Linked DNA regions of Homo sapiens: region 2 is linked to region 1. The links are contacts of gene promoters, found by promoter capture Hi-C in blood cells and fetal thymus (Javierre and others, 2016). All regions are on one chromosome and are shown on one strand. Each heading gives the region's core, a stretch centred on a gene start or on the middle of the fragment in contact. The rest is flanking DNA. Distances are from core to core; before and after follow the strand shown.

Region 1 (2,949 bases), core at 334-2,833:
TTTGTAGGAGGGAGTGGTAGGCAGTTCTTATTTATAATTTTTTTTTTTTTTTGAGAATGATGCCCGCTGCAAAACGAAGTAACAGAAGGCTGGCTCTGAAACACCACACTTCTTGGTCTTAACGTTAAAATGCTTTTCTAGAGCAGAAGGGAAAAAGAGTTATCAGTGCTTTCGTCCCACAAAAATAGTTCCTGTTTCACTAAATTTTACCACTGCCTTTAGAATTAGTAAATGAAAACGCCAACTTGTAGAAGCATTAAGTTAATGCGATTTAGAAATTAAATAGTAACCGGCCTCATCACACAGATAAGGTTAGGCTTCTTCAGCCAGGGGCAATTTCTGTCCTAATTGTCACAGCTGCCTTAATGCTGTACTTTCTGCGCTGTAGCTGCCAGGAGGCAGATAAGATTTTTCTCTCTGAATTAATTCTGGGAAAGGTGGCACTTTTTATAGGCCTTAAATGACCCTTTTCTAAGATTTTTTGTTGGTGGTGTCCAGATGTTCCAATAATACTGGAGAGTTAACTATTCCTTCCAAACCTGTGTCGTTCAAACTGCCTTGAGGAGAACGGGAAAAAAGTAAGGTTCACACTCGAAAAGTTTCACTCGGGGTGGGGTGAGGACGAGGTAGGAAGGAAACGACAGTACGTATCGTTCGTAACTATCGTACAATACGTATCGTTTCCGAAGCTAGACCGGCAGCTGGCACAGTCTTTCCCCTTTCCAGGTCCTGGGGAGAAACGTCTCTCGCTGAGGGGGCTAGACACCTACGACAGCCTCCTCCTCGGGAATCAACACAGCTCTGGATCGTGACACGCTTCCAGAAGTCCGTGACGAGTGGGGGCAGAAGACAGGTTCTTCGCTTCCCCTTCACCCAAACACGTCCCAAATTGTTCGAGGCAGGAAGAGCACGCCTCTCTCATCTCCCCAAGACCTACTCTCGCTCAGCTCCCTCGCCCTGTTTCCTCTGGGGGCACCGCCACCCCGCTCGGGACTCCCGCCTCTGGCCACAGCAGCCCCGGAGCGGCAAGGGGGAAGAAGTAACGGAGAAGCGCCGGCTAGAAGCGGCCGCCTCCGGCCGCTCGGCGCCAGCCTCGGCGGCCCGGGCTTGGAGGCGAGACGAGCCCGGGAGCCGCACGGGGCTTCTCCGGCTCTGGGCCCCGCGCCCGTCTCCGCTGCGGCCTAGCCGGGCGCCCACGCCCTGGCCTCCCGGCTCCGCGCCGCCGGCCTTTCCCCGCCACCCCGGGCCGAGAGGCCCCGCGGGGGCGGACGAATGGAGGTGGAGGGGCGGGGGCACCTACCAGCTGCTGCCGGATCCAGCGCCACATTCCCCCGTCGTCGCCGTCCGGGTCCCGCGGGGCGCGGGGGCCGCGGGGCTGCAGGTGGAGGCCGACAAGACAGAGGCGGGAGCGGGCGAGCCCCTCGGGCCGAAGTTCCGCTTACCGCCGCCGCCGCCACTGCCTCACTCCCCGCGCCGCGTCCCCATCCCGCGGCGTCGGCCCCGAGTCCTACAGGCGCGGCCCCGGCGCCGCCCCCGCCCGGCGCAGCTGAGCCTGCCGCCGCGCCGCAGCCACCTTCATTATTGACCGTTGTCACCCAAAGCACCCCCGCAACCCCACCCCCGCCCCGCCCCGCCCGGCCCCCCGGCTCCACCCGGGACCGCCCCCGGCGCCCCGGCCCGCCCCCGGACGTGACGAAAGGGGGTGCGCGGACCGAGGGGGGCCTGGCGCGCCCCGCCGCCGTTCCGAGTTGGGGGGTTTCTGTGTTGTGGGTCCGGGAAGAAGCGAGCGTGGAAAGGTGCCGGGTTCTCGAACGCTGTTTCTGTCCACTGCCACCCTCCTCCCCGTTCTGGGAGTGGGATTAAGTCGTGTCTGTGGGTCTGGCCATCTCCGGAGTCTGCAGCTTGGGGCCGATTCCTCGGTCTCTACCTCCTGTTGCAGGTCTTTTTCGGGCTCTGTGGCTTCTTTGGTTCACGCGTCTCCCGACACGCATACGCACAGTCCTGAACGTATGTGACTGAAAGTTAATCCCCCCAGAAGTCCCAGTTTGGGTTCCATCAAGCTGTAAGAGCTTTCGTCTCAACACAAGTCAGGCCTCTTCTTTAGCAAATGGCTGAGACGGGGCTAGGGAAATCTTGATCACACCCATTAAGTGATTCGAAAGCGTTGCAAGTCCCCTGAGCCTGGTACAGCCTGGACCCGTGTTTCTAGGCGAATGGATGAGATATTCTGTCTTGCCGTGTGCTAAATTGGACAGGTTCAGGGGAAGATAATTTGTATAAAAAGGTAGTTCTTTACTGCTAACTGCCAAACTTCTGCAATCAAAAACACCCGTAGCAGTAACTTGACCTAGGTTAAAAAAGTGTGTGGATGACAAGCTCAGAAGGAATATACAAGCAACTGGAACAAGGCTTTGACTTAAAGGTTTGGCGTTGTTTAAAAGCAGCCCCGTATACATATTGTGTTATGTATATGTATTGAATGCTGTATTTTTGCTGAATTAAAGCACACTTCACCGACAGACGTTTGTGGTTAAAAAAAAAAAAATTAAGCGGCCGGGCGCGGTGGCTCACGCCTGTAATCCCATGTAATCCCAGCACTTTGGGAGGCCGAGGCGGGTGGATCACGAGGTCAGGAGATCGAGACCTTCCTGGCTAACATGGCGAAACCCCATCTCTACTAAAAAATACAAAACATTAGCCGAGCGTGGTGGCGGTCGCCTGTAGTCCCAGCTACTCGGGAGGCTGAGGCAGGAGAATGACGTGAACCCGGGAGGCAGAGCTTGCAGTGAGCCGAGATGGCGCCACTGCACTCCAGCCTGGGCGGCAGAAGGAGACTCCGTCTCAAAAAAAAAAAAAAAAAAAAAAAATTAAGCAAGAACAAATCTAAATGAGATTAGCATGACTAGGCAGGTCGTTGAATATGCATCCTCAATCTTCTAGTTTCAGTAG
Region 2 (2,949 bases), core at 167-2,666, 910 kb before region 1:
AGTTTTCATCATTAATCTATTTGTTGATATTGCTACATCTTTAAAGGCTCTTTAGCTAAATGTTTAAAAGAATGTACAAAGTTATTATACACAGACACATGCAAACAAAAAGACAGTAAGCAAGGCAATATTAATAATAGAATTCAAGGCAAAAAAAATAACATGATAAAGATGATGTTATTAAAGGCACAATCACAAAAATACATCTTAAACTATACATCCAACAATATAGTATCAAAATACATACAACAAACAGAAAAAGGAAAGTTTAAGAAATCACACATCTCTATATAAAATTTAAAAGATTAAGACAATTTATAAAAATACAGATGATAGGCCGGGCGTGGTGGCTCACGCTTGTAATCCCAGCAGTTTGGGAAGTTGAGGCAGGTGACTCGCTTGAGCTCAGGAGTTCAAGACCACCCTGGGCAACACAGTGAAACCCTGTCTCTACAAACAATACAAAAATTAGTTAGGAGTAGTGGCAAGCACCTGTACTCCCAGCTACTTGGGCAGCTGAGGTAGGAGGATTGCTTGAGCCCAGGAGATGGAGCCTGCAGTTAAGCTGAGATCGCGCCGTTGCACCTCCAGCCTGGGTGACAGAGCCAGACCCCGTCTCAAACAAAACAAACACAACAAACAAAAAAGATGATATAGATATATATCTGGTAATTAACAAGCCAGAATTAACAAATACACACAACTCTGAACCCAACAGAAAAAAATCTTTTAAAAATATCTATAAAAGTTCATTAAGGTCGGATGCAGTGGCTCATGCCTGTAATCCCAGCATTTTGGGAGTCCAAGGTGGGTGGATCACTTGAGGACAGGAGTTTGAAACTAGCCTGGCCAATGTGGTAAAACCCCGTCTCTACTAAAAATACAAAAATTAGCTGGGCATAGTTGTGGATACCTGTAATCCCAGCTACTTGGGAGGCTGAGGCAGGAGAACTGCTGAACCCAGGAAGTGGAGGTTGCAGTGAGCCGAAATCACGCCACTGCACTCCAGCCTGGGCAACAGAGTGAGACTCTGTCTCAAAAAAAAAAAAGTTCATAAAATGTAAATCATACAGTAAGATATGAAGAAAGTCTCAAATTACTGCAAAATGTAGAAATATTACAGCCACATTCTGATCTTAATAAAAATTAATATTAGCTCACCATGATATGGAAAATAAGACACTCTTCTAATAACTCATGACTCAAAGAAGAAATTAAAACTAAAGTAACAGACTATTTAAAAACTAACGAGAACACAGTATCTCCAAACCTATGGAAATGTGGTCAAAAGTCACCATCAGAGGAAAATGGCAAACAAGCTTTCACTGCAAATACACATACAAATCCAATCCAGCAGGGTATTAAAAGCATAATGCATCATAACTGGAAAGTTTTATTGCCAGCAACAGAAAAAGAAACAAGCAGAACGAACAAAGGCTAAATCCTAAAACCAAAGTGGGGAGATCTAGAACGAAGGGGATTTGTACTACACAAGTCTACTGTTGAAGCTTTAGGAAGCTTTTTTTTTTTTTTTGAGATGGAGTCTCACTCTGTTGCCCAAGCTGGATTGCAGTGGCGCAATATCGGCTCACTGCAACCTCTGCCTCCCAGGTTGGAGTGATTCTCCTGCCTCAGCCTCCTAAGTAGCTGGGACTGCAGGCACCCACCACCACATCTGGCTATTTTTTATTTTATTTTATTTTATTTTTTTAGTAGAGGGAGGGTTGAACTCCTGACCTCAGGTGATCCGCCTGCCTCAGCCTCCCAAAGTGCTGGGATTACAAGCGTGAGCCACTACGCCTGGCCCCTTTAGGAACATTTTAATGAAACTGACTTTCAGTAATCCAAATACATATGATCCATTTCCTGAATTCTATTTTGAAAACTAAATACGGCAGCAGCTTCACCCCAACACCATCCACTCTTCCCAAAGACTGTTCAATGTACACTCTAAGAATATATATCCATTTTAATATTATACTGAGAAAATCATTAGGCATGCAGAAGCCCTATCAAAAAAATCAAAATCTATATTTCAATGTCAATTAAAATTTCTCCACCTATTTAAACATTACTCTTAACACTGTCACCTCCCTTTGATACAAAGAACTGAAAAAACAAAATACACCTGATCGTCTTTCCAAAGTTATGCTCATTTTGTAACAGAAGGAACGAGAAGTTATCTATTAGGTTGGTGCAAAAGTAAAAACCACAACTACTTTTGCACCAACCTCTATTAAAGGACAGACTCAGACCAAGGGAACTCTAGGAGACAGAAGATTCTGTTATGATTTTCACCAGAGTTAGTACCGACAAAAAAATGCTATGCTAATTATTCTAAGTCAGGTCTGACACACAAAACCTTTTGAATATGTTCCCATTTGCTGGCTAACATATCACTTTTTCTTTAACTCATCTGGCATCCAAAACAAAAACAGATCTTTTAAGTAAAAATAATCAAAATTTTATACTGGACCTGAATGGCGAGAAGCTGAGCGATCTGGTCATTAGGACTGACGTGATGTGGGACATTTCTAATAACATGTAAAGAGCTGAGCAAAAGACAGCTGAGCTCAAAAACACTGTCTCATTATTTCAGTCTTATATATTTCCAGGTCAAAAACACCAACTTTCCTATAAATAAAACGGCTTTAAGACTACACAATTTGCTAATATGGTCAGCCCCCAGAATCCATTCTGGCCAGTACGCTGTCTACAACCTTGCAAACTAGCACACAGAAGACTGTAGGATAAAACAGCTCCTCTAAATTATCCATGCCACTGCTTCTCTCCATTAATGCACCTGGAAAGCTGACTTTAGGTAACTTTTACCATTCCCTTTTTTTTTTTTGAGAGAGAGAGTCTTGCTGTCGCCCAGGATGGAGTGCAGTGGCGCAATCTTGGCTCACTGCAACCTCCGCCTCCCGGGTTCAAGAAATTCTCCTGTCT

Evidence for each region. Contacts are between HindIII fragments. The CHiCAGO score rates a contact against its expected background, and 5 or more counts as called.
Region 2: a contact is called between a fragment that was not itself captured here and the fragment with the promoter of ATP11B in region 1, in 1 of 17 cell types (fetal thymus). The highest score is 5.6, in fetal thymus.

The regions. Positions count from the first base shown.
Region 1 is chr3:182,792,138-182,795,086 of GRCh38, reverse strand. ATP11B (ATPase phospholipid transporting 11B (putative)) reads right to left here and starts at 1,583. Exons shown (of 30, transcript NM_014616.3): 1 at 1,301-1,583. The coding sequence starts at 1,327. It overlaps ATP11B-DT (ATP11B divergent transcript), which reads left to right and starts at 1,723. Exons shown (of 3, transcript NR_187316.1): 1 at 1,723-2,007. RefSeq lists a silencer at 999-1,748. The HindIII fragment of the contact is 13,212 bases long and covers 1-2,949 here.
Region 2 is chr3:183,702,736-183,705,684 of GRCh38, reverse strand. All of the region lies in intron 1 of YEATS2 (YEATS domain containing 2), which reads right to left. Among named protein-coding and RNA genes, the nearest start is that of YEATS2, 6.4 kb to the right of the region's middle. The HindIII fragment of the contact is 189 bases long and covers 1,322-1,510 here.